Regions from separate parts of the Homo sapiens genome. Here regions 1, 2, 4 and 5 are each linked to region 3. The links are contacts of gene promoters, found by promoter capture Hi-C in blood cells and fetal thymus (Javierre and others, 2016). All regions are on one chromosome and are shown on one strand. Each heading gives the region's core, a stretch centred on a gene start or on the middle of the fragment in contact. The rest is flanking DNA. Distances are from core to core; before and after follow the strand shown. Region 1 overlaps PTPRQ (protein tyrosine phosphatase receptor type Q). Region 2 has its middle 21 kb from the start of PTPRQ. Region 3 holds the start of ACSS3-AS1 (ACSS3 antisense RNA 1). Region 4 has its middle 44 kb from the start of PTPRQ. Region 5 overlaps OTOGL (otogelin like).

Region 1 (2,821 bases), core at 242-2,741, 630 kb after region 3:
AGTAGATAACTGATGGATAAAAAGGAATGATTATAATCAGTTGGAATAAGCTGAACCTATTAAAATTCCAAAACAGAAAAAATACATAGTCCATGATGATAGTAAAAAAGGGAAGTTACCTTGAATCTGCCAAAAGACTATTGTTTGGCATATAAAGCTTTAATGTATGCAGACAAATTTTAAAATGTTATTCATTAATACAAATAAATTTATGGGGGTCTACACAAAATTTTGGTCAACATCTAAGTTATTATCCACTCATGGTTGTTGCCCCAAATCAGACAAGGTGTTTTGTTAAAGGCTTACAGTAAAGATGGTTGTGTCTTAAAAAGGAAAGGGAATATGTATAGATCATCAAAAGAGTAATTTGTATGGGAACTTCTCAAAGTTGTATTTATGATTATTACACCCTAAGTATGAGAAAATAAAAACTAATCTTAGGCTTATTGGAAAACTGCACATCTATGATTAAAACACACACAAACACACACAGAGATACACACACACACACACAGAATCAATCTTGTATTGATCTTTCCTGCTTGAACACAAGGGTGTTTTACTTCCAAGCATTAGTAAACTCTATTTCTCTTAAAAAGATAAGGCATTTAACCAAATAACTTACTCCTATTTTTAATTAGTAATATTAACACATCACTGAGTTAACACATCACTCAATTTCTCATGAAACAATATTGAAGAGTGGGCCCATATTTTTTTACATGAATAGAAGGTATAATTACTGTATTTAATAAGATTATTTTGGGCCTAAACCCAGAAAAATAGTTGCTCTTGAGCTCATCTTGCTTCAAATGACACTTGAGACCCTACCTAACATTTTAGCTTCCTCTTTTGCCAAAGGAGCTAAAGTGGGTGGTTTAACAGTAGCAAACATAATCTAGGAAAAGTCACTAATGTAGATTCCATTGTCTTCCATTTTCATCCAGGTGGAAAATGCACAGAACTTGAGACTACCCTAACTTAGGACAGAGAACCAGATATTAGGAAGATGGGCATTAAACCCTATACTCTGATTGTTAGGCCTGGCTAGGAAGCCATGGGATATGTTGGTTTCCCCTTCTCTTTATTTTTTTAGCCATCTCAGGAGCCTATTAAGTGAGGCCTGTAATGGGGGTCAGGAGGCCTATAGTCAAGCCCCAATTTACTTCTCATGTACTATAACTTGTGAGTCCTTTTACCCAAATGGTCCTAGGTCTTCTCACCTAAAAAATAAAGGGCTCTGCATGTTTTCTAAGACACTTTCCAAAATTAAAATTCTCATTTTAAACTAAATCTCAAAATTTATATTCACTTAAAGTTTATTGTCCCTGCCTTTGAATTAAACTCATACAGACAATAAAACAGAAAATAAAATTACATTTTCAATACTAAGTAAAAGATTATGTGCATGTAATAATCAGAAAACAAAAACATTGCTTTATAATTCATCATTAAAATAAGGTGTTCTTGATGCTATGGCCACTTAAACGAAATACTTGATAAGCATTCATAAAAATGGTTATTATTTCATATCACAATAGAATCTTTCAAAGTTATTACTTTCCTCCCCATGCTGAGCAGAAGCCTAATGACAAAATATCAGTGTAACAATGAACAGAGAGATCTTAGATATAGTTTATAATTTACCAGCTTTGTTGATTACTTCAAAAACAGCATGTGCTGTGAAAGGGAAATGGGTTTTACAGTCAGATGGGTTTGGATTCTAATTCCAGCTCATCACTTTCCAGCTGATCACTTTCCAGCTGGTGCCATTAGGCAATGAAACACCCACCAACTAATAAAACTTAAGGAGGGAAGGAAATCCTTTTCTTCTACACTACTTTATCCCCAGTAAGGCCTGGTATATTATAAATATTTTTTGAATGAATGAACCTCTCAAACCCTCCATTTTTCGTTAGACTTAGTTTTCTGTGAAGATAACAATAATGTATTGCTTTAGTTTAGAATTTTTAAAAGACAGTTTCTGTGAAACCTATCAACAGGGCCCGTGACCCTTAATAGGTGCTAAAAATATGCTTGTTTCATTTCCTTAATCCACTGCAAAATAAAACTGAGTCATTAAAGAGCAGACATTTTTCTCAAAAATACTTATTTCAGGTACAATATCTACAAAAGCAATGAAACATGCCAATATATGGATTAATATCAATTAAGTGTCACTTCAAGGCTCTTGATAATGTAAAATGCTCCTTTCATTACTTTCTTATTCCTGCACTTTCAACTACTGCCATTATCTATGGGCTCTTTTGTATCATCTCATTGTATTCATTTCTGTGAATAGTCTCAACAGGATCCTTTTCTACAAAAGTAAGCTACTTTACTAGATTTCTAGATCCTCAAGGTCAAGACAGAAATTCGTATATAGTATCTGGCTGAACTATATGAAATTGCTGATATTTGGCCATTTGTGACCTATAAAAATTATTTCATGTGGTTCCACCAGTATCTAGTCAGTAAATATTTATTGTTTTAAACGTACAATTAAAATAGTAACTTTATATTTAGTTATTAATTCTCAAAATACATTGTAGAATTGGCCTAATAGTTATGCCACCAATATATAATTATAACACAATATAAACAACAAAATAAGATTAACAGACAAACTGTCTTACTCTAGTTTCACCGAAACTAAAACACAAGTAATTCCTTGCTTGTTTTACTTCCTTTAGATGGGATATCCTCTCCCAACCCATCCAGCAACCTCTATAACAGGGGTCCCCAATCCCAGCGCCACGGACTAGTACCAGCTGGTGGCCTGTTAGGAACTGGGCCACACAGCAGGTGAGCATCATAAAGC
Region 2 (2,700 bases), core at 57-2,556, 700 kb after region 3:
ATTTAATTTAATTTTAAGTTCCAGGATACAGGGGCAGGACGTGCAGGTTTGTTACATAGGTAAACATGTGTCATGGTGGTTTGCTGCACGTATCAACCCATCACCTAAGTATCAAGCCCCACAAGTATTATTTATCCTGATGCTCTCCCTCCCCGACCTCCGTGACAGGCCCCAGTGTGTGTTGTTCCCCTCCCTGTCTCCATGTGTGCTGATTATTCAGCTCCCACTTATAAGTGAGAACATTCACTGTTTGGTTTTCTGTTGCTGTGTTAGTTTGCTGAGGATAATCGCTTCCTTTTATTCTACCTGCTAGATATGAGAAGTTAAAAGTATTGTTTAAAAACAGCCAGAATTATTTTAAACTTTGAAATAAAATACATGTGTGCTTTAAGTGTACAAAATGTGTCCCAGTAGCATTGTACTCAAAATGTCCCTGGCCTCTAAAATGCAGGAAGTAGATCATACCTTAGTCTTGTGTAACCACTGACTTCAGAAATATTTAATTATTTTTAGGACTCATCCTAATTAAATACCAAGGAGTGCCAAGTCTAATTAGCAGGAAAGTTAATTGCAATCTGAATATGAAATGCCTCCCTTCTTTCCTGAGGAAAAAAAGTTAAATTAAATAGTGTATAATGGGCATATTGTTTTCTCTTTAAAATTCTCCCATATATGAGAAAGGAATCAAATTGTGAAGATATTCTCTCAATCTCATTCTTTCTTATTACATTAAAAGAATACCAGACATGGCCAGGTTCTAAATATATAAATCAATGTACCCATTGCATCAACGTCAAGAATAACTAAAATAGTTTAGTAGAATAGTTGACAATTTTACTTTACTAGATACGACAGCTTATACAGTTGCATGCATCCTTCCCAGTCATCCTTTATTTCATATGATTACCATGGGATATATCACCATCTGCCTTTGGGAATAAAATGTTTACACTGGCAAGGTGGCACTTCATTGGAAAATGGGGTAATTAAATCACAAATGGAAACTCTGGCCAGACCATAAGCAGTTAGCAATGCTACCATCTGACAATACATACTTAAAAGGATGTTGTGATAACCCATACCAAGGAAAAAGAAAAAGATACAAGAGACAATGCCCATAAAGAAAACCTGGGAGGAATGAAGTACTTACTAATCTTCCCTTAAAGGACCAAGGAAATATCTGAACATGAAAGAAACTCCTAAGGTGCCTACATAGGCGGTAACCTGTCTGTATTTCTTTTATGTTAGCAGTAATGTCTTTAAAACCTTCTTTTTCAGCCCGAATAGAAAAGGTGTACACTGTGGCAGGATCCAGGTTAGAGAATATTGCTGTTTCTTGAACTACCTTCTGAACCTATCAATCCAAAAGAATACATTATCAAGTATGTGTTTAAGAAAAGCTCCACAACTGAATACAATTGGGAATTATTTAGTTTCACTACTATCCAATGTAAGAATGCAGTAATGTTGGTTTCAGCATGAAACATTCAAGTTTAATTCCTCTAAGAGCCCTTTATAACGTACCATGAAAGCAGCAGCATAGTTTATGCATGTGATTTCATAATGCTGGAAATTCCCATCAACTCGATTCCAGAGAATGTCTATAGAAGAATCTGTAACTTTGCCTTCATGGATATTCAGTGGTGCTTCCAGACCTATCCAAACACACAACAAACTTAAATTCCTCTTGGAAATTTCCTAATTGTTTTTTTTAACTTATCCCTTAAAAGGGAATAAAAAACATAATAATGTCAAAAAGAACAATAGTTTATTAATTAATCTATGCCTCTATCCTAATTAAAAATAGTTGTTTACACATTCAATGACAGTTTATAAAATACGGTAATCAGTTCCAATACTGAAAGCCATTGCAAACACCATCACATACAGCTAATTTTGGTGCTGCAGCAAAAAACCACACAGGAACAAATTCACTGAAGAAAATACACAATATTCAAGGAAACAAAAAGATTAAAACTATTAGCATAAGCTGAAAAGACAACAGAGAAAGAAATATGAATTTTAGACAAGTAAGTGAAAGAATCCCCTTTGTATCAAATATTTGCTGAAGCTAAAAATAAATTGTATCTGATGAGTGTTAATGTTTCTTTTTCCCATTTTGAAGATTTAATCTAGCATAAGAAAAAATTATTTCAGAAAATGGGGAAAATGGCAGCTTTAAACTATCATCTTATATATTGATTTATTTTGCTGATTGATATCACAATATTGATGTATTTAGATAATCATGTAGTAATTTTGTTTAAAGACAATAACTGCCAAATATAAAGACTGTAGCCCATAATGATTTATAAAGTAATGAAGACAGGCAGAGAATACAGATATAAAAAGTACATAGAAATTGAAAGCAAAAATAAAATATAAATAGGTATTGAAATGATTATAAATATGCTAAAATGCTGTCAAAGTAATGTGATTTCTGACATCAGTTTGAGAGTATTTTATAGACAAGTTGAATTTCAACGGAAATGGAAATGTTACAATTTGTGAGGGAAAAGATACATGGTAGCCTAATGACCTAGGTGGATATATATAGAGACAGGAAGAGCAAATAATGAGGGCACTGGACATGTTATAAGTCAGAATTACGTTTTTAGGACTCCATGTGATTTTGGTTTGTATGGCATTTATTACTCTTCATCATTAATTTCGACATATACTGGATGGATATTTTAGGTA
Region 3 (2,757 bases), core at 107-2,606:
TTATTAGATACAGCATTGAAATAATTTTCATTGAAGATGATATTATGCTAAGCCAATTTATTTTGAGATATGTCTCTTAAAACCAGGAAAGTTAGAGATGTTATCTAAAAAAGAAAAATCTTTCTTTTAAAGATGAAAACATTACATTTACACTTACAAGTAAAATGTATTATTATTTATCTAAAACACAGAGGAATACTTATTTTATATTTAAGAATCGCATTGTATTAAATTTTTCAAGAACAATTACAAAACGCTATCTTACATTCAAAATAGTTATCTGATAGTGGTCTAGAAAACATTTACTAGCACATTTCTTCTCAAATAATTTTCTTCAAATGAAAGAGTAAATACCATTACTCAGAATTATCATTTTTCTCATTACCAGTTTCTTCACACATGGGTTTCAATCAATATTTAGTCATTTTCAGACTATGTATTCACAAGCAAAGTGAAATAGATAATTATTTAATCCCTTTAGTTCAAGCTCAAAATAATCAGTATTTCAATAATCTTTGCTTTCAAGACTACTGTGATTTTCAGACTGTAATTTCACAGAAAATTAGTTAAATCCTGTATTTCCCTATGTATATGTGCTCAGTCTTGATAAGGAATATTGTCTTCCATTTCCTTGATACTTATGTTAAAATTTACAAGAAAATCATCAGAATTCATCACATCTTGTAAAGCATATTTTGTTAATTTTAAAACAGTATTTCTGTGTAACAGGCCATTGTGGACAGAGAAAATAATTCTACGTCAAGGAGAAGTCCAAGGTCTAAAAGAATGGAAAATGCAATTGATGCCTGTTATTAACACACAACAGGACTAGGGTGCATGCAATAAAAAGGAAAGAAAATACACAGACAAAGAATAATTAAGGATTGCATCCACTTTTTACCATTTTAACATCTCTCCACTATAGACATTAATAATTGGGTAATTGTAACTTTCTCCTGCTTTTACTCACTGGAGAGTTGCTGCCAATATCTCTAATCATCACAGCATGTGCCATTTGGCTGAAAAAGTGAAGGCAGTTTAGTATAGAGAGAGAAAACATTCAGGATGAAGTGGGTTGTGAGATGAACTGGAAAGGCATGAAGAAACAATATTAGACATGATACAGAGTCTTGTTATGCCCATCGAGTTTAGACTAACCCGAAAAACAATGTGTAATAATTGAAAAATGTTCATCCTCTTTAAAAGTAAGTGCTTTCCACATTCTTAAAATGTAATGATTATTGCATAAACTAGAATCATTAATGTAATGATTATTGCATAAACTCGATTATTGCGTAATAGGGGTAAAAATAAATAAGCTTATTTGAGAAATATTAAGAATGGGGCCACAGTTTGGGTTTTAGCAACTGATTGGAAAGTGATGCCATTCACATTGGACACGTTTAAATTTGAGACGCTAGTGGAACAACCATGTATAGACACCTACTCGGCAATCCTGCATATGATCTCAACATCAGAAGAGAGATGTGGGCTGATGACACAGAACTGAGAATAGCCAGCGTTGCCACTGGGAGTAACCATCACATATGTGGCAAAAAAGGCCATTGGCGCAGATATAATCACCCAGGCGGGATGTGTAAAATGGAAAAAGAAGGCAACCTAGAAGCAGGTAGTGAAGGGACAGGCAAAAGAAGCATTTAAGAAGGATAATTAGAATGAACACAGGAAAGAAAGGAAAATGAGGGCAGAATGGTATATAGAAGTTAAGTGAAGACTGGCAGAGAATGGACAAAAATGTTAGACATAATAAAGAGAGGAAGTAAAATATTGAACACCTATTGGAATTAATAAGAAGAAAGCATTAATTACCTTAGCTAAATGAGGCAGTAGCATATTTTAGAGGGTTTTGGTTATGTGTGTGGTAAGGAAATTTAAAAGGCATTTTTCTGAAGTTAATCAGTGAATGAAAATAGATAAGAAACTAGCTAGTAGTAGAAACATTTATGTATTTTTTTTGTTTTGTTTTGTTTTTTTTTTTTGAGACGAAGTCTCGCTCTTCTGCCCAGGCTGGAGTGCGGTGGCGCAATCTCGGCTCACTGCAAGCTCCGCCTCCCGGATTCACGCCATTCTCCTGCCTCAGCCTCCCGAGTAGCTGGGACTACAGGCGCCCACCACCACGCCCGGCTAATTTTTTGTATTTTTAGTAGAGACAGGGTTTCACCGTGTTAGCCAGGATGGTTTCGATCTCCTGACCTCGTGATCTGCCCGCCTCGGCCTCCCAAAGTGCTGGGATTACAGGCGTGAGCCACCAAGCCCGGACAATTTATGCATGCTTTTAAGAGAAAGAGCCAGCAGTGAGATAGGTATAAGATAGATTAACAGAACAAGAGCCCTAAAAAGAATTGATAGAATGGCTCCAGGAGACCAAAGAAAGATTACCTTCTATTTTAAAAGGAGGGAAAGAGAAAACAATGGGTGTGGATACAGGCAAGTCTGTTGGTCTGGTGATAATAAATTTATATAATCATTGCTAGGTTTGAATCAATGTACCCTGTTAAGCTTGAGGCACAGAGGCAGGAAAGCCAAAAGTTTAAAATGGCCTTTGGAGAGTAAAAGAGAAACTTACTCGAGAAATGCTAAAGAAAAAAAGAAAATGCAGCATTGAAGTCCCAGTGGACACTGGATACCATAAATTTATATTAAATCTATATTTGTAGTTACGTGATTTTTCTTTAACAGGATTCAACGTATCAGATACAGTAATGAAGACAATAAGAAATTGGATTGATCCAGGTC
Region 4 (2,700 bases), core at 20-2,519, 730 kb after region 3:
CATCATCATGAAAAATATTTCAAAATACATGAAACTGAAACTTAAATAGAAACAACGTTCAATAGTCGTTTCAACTCAATTTATTTTTAAAATATATTCATCTAAAAAGCTTGCCTAGCCTTTCATAGGAACGTGGAGCCCCCAAGGACCTAAAAACTTTTGTATTCAACTTAAGATACAAAGAAAAAAAACCTGTATTTTGTATATGTTTTTAAAACTGAAAATACCATTTTAATAGTAAACAGTTCCCCAGGATCAAATTTAAAGCTCCTGAAAGCTCACTGTAAAGCAAGTTTATTCCTACAGAATCCTCTTTAGGTCTTCTTAAGCAGGAGTTTAGCTCAGATAAAATGCAACCCAGTCAAAAAGAAATGCCTAATAGTTAAATCCAGACCCTTCCACAAAACTGCAAAGCTTTAACTTTGCCCATTTTCCCAAGCAACCTGATGTAAGTGTTCTAGGGCTATGGTATTAATTTCCCCCCTAAATCTAAGCGTAAACTATAATTTTGAAGGCTGTGTACCATAATACAAATGCGAAAGTGGAAAGCTCCAGGATGCCCGCTCTTTAAGTCCAAACCCCCACTCAAATTCAATTCTGTGAGTCACTGTGTTTGCCCTGGGAGTGTGTAAAGAGCCCCTGTCCTAATGCACACTATTTTAGAGTCAAAAAGCACCAACTTTTGAAACAGGGAGAGAGAGGCAGAGTATAAACGAAAAGATTGAGGTTTAAAGAATGGTTAGACTGGTGGAGAAAGAAGGAAAGAGCTGAGACCTGGAAGACAGTCAAAGTGCAGAGGATGCAAGGCTGAGAAGTCGCAGGAGCCACGGCACCCCTGCAATCCGCCCTGACCCCCATCTGGACCCGGACCCGGACCTGCAGCCGCGCGGCGCCTGTGCTTTGCAAGTTTCGGGTGCCAGGGCAACTGGCCCGGAGGTGCTGGCACTGCTCTGGGTGCGGCGGCCCAAGCTGCCCACGATTCCTGGGTCACAGCCCACCTCGCAGCCTGCCTCCCTTTAGTCTCCTTCTCTCGCTCTGCTCCAGCTCTTGCTGCAGCTGCTCTGGCGGCTTTCATTTGGGCCAGCGATGCCCTCTCCCTGCGTTGGGTTAATTAAGCGAATGTTTCCATGGAGACAGGAAGCCTTGGGAAGGGAGAGGAGTGGGAGGCAAGTCCCAAAACATTGAAATGTGGAGGAGAATTGCATTCTGCATAGAAGAAGGGAGGAAAGGGAAGGGCGATGAAGGAGAACGCGAGGTGGGACACATTGGTATCTCATTTAAAAACAAAACAAAACAAAAAGCAGAAGTCGACTATATGGCTGTGAATAGCCCAGTTTTGGCTTAAGATCAAATATGTGGCTTTGTATGAAGCCACACTCCTTGTTAACGTGTGTGTGTGCCTGTGTGTGTGTGTGTGTTCTCTGCGGCATTTGAGAATGTTGATTGAACCCCGAGATCTCAGCTTCCCTGACATCTCCCTCCCCTCTTGCTTCCATTTGCTTAGTCTGCGTCACTGTGTCCTCCAACACTGCCAACTCAAAAACTGAGTTGACCCGTTGTGCCTTCCTTGACTGTGGAATACTTCATTCACTCTTGTGATTCTACCATATTCAAGATCTTCGATCACTCCATCTTGAATTTCATGTCTTTCCAGGGCTTCAGAGAAGTATTTATAGCTCCAAAATGGGCATCTCCATCTGGATGTCCCTATAAACGATTCAAAACCATATTTTCAAACCTAAATTTATAAACTCCTTTTCCAGCTCTTCCTGAGGAAAAGATCCTTCACCCAAACAACCAAAGGAAAATCACTACCTCTTCATCCTCAGATCCTTTTCTCACCATCCAGTGCCACTTTATCCTGCAAATCCCTTTGATTCCATTCCTAAACTGCCTCTTAAGCTGATTAATTCTTCATTATTACCACTGTTACAGACTTAATTGAAAACTTTAAATCTCTCTCTCTCACACACACACACACACACACACGTGCGCGATCTCACTTTTGCTCTGTCTGGAAAACATGTATCATGTTAAGACTTTGTACCTCAGTGCAGATCCTGTGGCTCCCTTTACTAGCTAAGCAGCTCTTTGAAAATTTGGCTGTGGTGAAGAGTAAGCTTGAAGAGTGCTTAGTAGAGTGTAAAAACTTAATTGAAAGACAACCAACATTAGTTCACTGCAGCTACTGCTAATACACTAACACTTGGATTATGTCTCCATGTTTGATACTCCCAATCTCTCTTACATACTACTAGCCAGTGTGATCTTTCTGAAATACACACATGATACTATATAATCATGCATGGAGGGTACTTAAAAGCCTGTTGTGACTTTTTGTTGTCTATAATGTACCTCTCACCAAATTCACTTTTCAACCTCATCTCTCTCCTCTCCTCCTTGGCACCCTGACTTATATGTACCCTCAATGAAGTAACAGGCCATAAACATTTACATGTCTGTTTTCCTGTAGATCTTTGTTTATACTGTAGCACGAAAATTTACTTTTTATACATTTATGTACTCAGCTAGATTAGGAACTCCATGATGGCAAGGATTCAAGCACAGTTATAGGTGTGAACTATATTTGTTTTGTTTTAATTCCTGGGGATTCTGCATATCTTTTGAGTCTTTAAAAGTAGAAGGTATTGGCCAAGCATGGTGGCTCATGCCTGTAATCCCAGCGCTTTAAGAGGCCAA
Region 5 (2,763 bases), core at 242-2,741, 810 kb after region 3:
CTTTCCCTGCCCACTTCCCAACCACTAGCCTCCAGTAACCACCATTCTATTCTCTACTTCTAAAAATTCAACTTTTTTGGATTTTGCAAATAAGTGAAATCATATGGTATTTGTCTCACTGTGCCTGACTTACTTCACTTAGCATAATGTTCTCTAGGTTCATCCGTGTTGTTGCAAATGATAGAATTTCTTGGTTTTTAAAGAATGAATAGCTAAAAGAAAGAATTTCAAATGTTCTTACCACAAAGCAATGGTAAATATTTGAGGTGATGGATATGCTAATTGGCCTGATTTGATCATTCCACAATGTGTACATGTATCAAAACACTACATTGTACCCCATAAATATATACAATTATATTTGTCAATTTAAAAATAAGATAAAATTTTAAAAAACATTTGAACAATGTTTACATTTATAAATAATGGTAAAGGTATGCATTTGTTATAGATCTTTCATCCTTTTTATCTAAAAAATTAACTAACTTCACCCACCCATTCATTCATGTCATTCCAAAACTGTACTGAGGGCCTCTTAAATTCTGAGAACTTAAGTTACACACTATTTTAGTTTTCAGGAAATAAATCTTAACACAAATACTGAGAAATTTTTGAAAATTTTAAAAATTAAAAGCTTTTATGGAGTTATATAGTTATGAACTATTTATAGTTTGTTCACAGCATAAGTTGTTCAAAAATTTTTAATATGAAAATACACCTAATAGAATACTATAGTGATATTTTTAATTTGAATGTCACATACCTTCATTGTAGTATTCACAATCAAGTGCTAAAAGAAAAAAAGAATAAATATTAAACTATGTAAGAAGTCAATCACTTATCTGAATGTGGGCAAGATATGGCCACATATTTATCAATAACTATGTGAAAGAATATAAAATGGTATTATTTAGGAACTTTTTCTGAGCAAAGAAGATTCTTTAAGCGATATGCTGTAATTAATTAAATTTCATATAATTGTTTTAAAGTAGGAAAATATATTGCCAATTTAGAAACCTCAGCTGAAAGTGTTCAAATTGTAAGTTTGTTCAGATATCTTACCACCTACACAAGTAAATTAAAAGCTTAAAGAGTCAAATCTGAAAGCAAATTCAAGGTGATTTTTTTAAAATATATTTATCATCAGAACGATGAAACTTCATAGGCATAAAAGAAATAAAGTCATAAACAATTTCTCTAAGGATGGTATTTAAATAATTTATATTTCAAATGGTACAATGACAGCAATAAAACACAGAACAAAATATTATCTCACAATTTATTTTTATAAGTCCTTTCGGTATTCTATAATTTATGATTGTCAAAGGAATATAAAATTTAGTCATTTTAATTTAATTCTATTCCCATGAGTCTCCTGGCATTATTTCTAAGCTAAATCAACAATTAATATGTATCTCTTTATCAGTTCTCTACATAATGATGTTCTAAGTAGGGTACTTACAACAAACAGTAGATGATCTCCAATGAATTGATATTCCTTCCTGACAACACTTGTATGCATATGCAGCTATACTAGTGCACAAACACTCACAGTCGCCACCAAGATTGCAGTTACATGTATCTTCATGACAATTTTTGGCAAAAGAAGTAACGTCAATCTGAAAAATGAGGTGAAAGATTACTTAATTTCAATAGATACTGATTATGATTTAAAGTCAACCGTCTAAAAAACTATGTGTTTTCAAAGTTTGATATTATCAGCTTAACACTGCCACCTAGAGAGTTCTCTTTATTTAAAGCCTCTTTATTGCCCAAAGGAGAAAGAAATGTATTAGGAAAATGTCACATCAAAGAACTAGCAAAAGAAATAATAAGATTAATAAATATATATGACTTCAACATCTGCAATATAACAGATTAATTTTTGGAAGCTTCTGTCATTATTGATGTAATCACATGACATTAAAATAAGGGCACCTTCTGCTTCCAATTGTAATTTTATATAATTTCGTATCTTTCTTCCTTCTTTCCTTTCTTTTTTGCCCCTGCTCATGCAACATCCTAATGGCTATTAATGGTAATAGCAATCTTTAAAAACAACTTATTCTATTTACTTAATTTATTTATTTGCATTACATTTAAGTAGCTGACAAAATTTAATATATTGACAGTGCATTAAAAAAGGAGCAAGGGACTCAAGAGGCTGAGGCAGGAGAATCACTTGAACCCGGGAGGCGGAGGTTGCAGTGAGCTGAGATCGCACCACTGCACTCCAGCCTGAGCGACAGAGACTCTGTCTCAAATAAAAAAAAAGAAGAAGAAGAAGAAAAGAAGCAGGATTTGCTGTCACTGAGCTGTATTTTATTTTTTAGGTCAGTTCATGGGTTAATTTTTCTTTTCAAGTGGAAAAGAACCAGCAGGCTCTGTGGTTCAGGACTCCAGACTTGACACAATATTCCTTGTCAAGCAGGTGTGGTCCTTGGAAACTCTGAAAAGTCTCAAAAGCAACCCTTTTTATAAACAAGACTTTAGTCTACCTATGTGGCTCTAATATGGCAGTCCTCAAACTTTTCTGTCTCAGAATCCCTTTACACTCTTAAAAAATCACTGAGATCCCCAAAGAGGTTTTGTTTATGGGATTATATCTACCAATATTTACTCTATTAGACATTAAAAATGAGACATTTAAAAATAACAATAAACCCTATATGTTTACATGAATAACATGATTTTATTGAAAAATATTTATATATGCTAAGAAATAGTGAAAAGAGTGCACTGTTTTACATTTTTGCAAATCTC

The links. Contacts are between HindIII fragments. The CHiCAGO score rates a contact against its expected background, and 5 or more counts as called.
Region 1: a contact is called between a fragment that was not itself captured here and the fragment with the promoter of ACSS3-AS1 in region 3, in 1 of 17 cell types (M2 macrophages). The highest score is 5.6, in M2 macrophages.
Region 2: a fragment that was not itself captured here is called in contact with the fragment with the promoter of ACSS3-AS1 in region 3 in 3 of 17 cell types (M1 macrophages, M0 macrophages and erythroblasts); the score reaches 6.7 in M1 macrophages.
Region 4: a contact is called between a fragment that was not itself captured here and the fragment with the promoter of ACSS3-AS1 in region 3, in 2 of 17 cell types (M0 macrophages and M2 macrophages). The highest score is 8.8, in M0 macrophages.
Region 5: a contact is called between a fragment that was not itself captured here and the fragment with the promoter of ACSS3-AS1 in region 3, in 1 of 17 cell types (endothelial precursors). The highest score is 5.8, in endothelial precursors.

What each region holds. Positions count from the first base shown.
Region 1 is chr12:80,497,460-80,500,280 of GRCh38, reverse strand. The region is part of intron 14 of PTPRQ (protein tyrosine phosphatase receptor type Q); the gene reads right to left. LOC124902975 (a long non-coding RNA gene) reads left to right here. Exons shown (of 3, transcript XR_007063389.1): 2 at 2,694-2,805. Among named protein-coding and RNA genes, the nearest start is that of PTPRQ, 55 kb to the right of the region's middle. The HindIII fragment of the contact is 2,663 bases long and covers 160-2,821 here.
Region 2 is chr12:80,421,599-80,424,298 of GRCh38, reverse strand. No RefSeq gene overlaps it. Among named protein-coding and RNA genes, the nearest start is that of PTPRQ, 21 kb to the left of the region's middle. The HindIII fragment of the contact is 3,115 bases long and covers 1-2,700 here.
Region 3 is chr12:81,124,457-81,127,213 of GRCh38, reverse strand. It overlaps ACSS3-AS1 (ACSS3 antisense RNA 1), which reads left to right and starts at 1,356. Exons shown (of 5, transcript XR_007063390.1): 1 at 1,356-1,630; 2 at 2,701-2,757. The region is part of intron 2 of ACSS3 (acyl-CoA synthetase short chain family member 3); the gene reads right to left. The HindIII fragment of the contact is 1,201 bases long and covers 1,322-2,522 here.
Region 4 is chr12:80,399,061-80,401,760 of GRCh38, reverse strand. No RefSeq gene overlaps it. Among named protein-coding and RNA genes, the nearest start is that of PTPRQ, 44 kb to the left of the region's middle. The HindIII fragment of the contact is 1,706 bases long and covers 417-2,122 here.
Region 5 is chr12:80,312,332-80,315,094 of GRCh38, reverse strand. OTOGL (otogelin like) reads right to left here. Exons shown (of 59, transcript NM_001378609.3): 31 at 1,463-1,619; 32 at 764-790. Among named protein-coding and RNA genes, the nearest start is that of PTPRQ, 130 kb to the left of the region's middle. The HindIII fragment of the contact is 807 bases long and covers 1,088-1,894 here.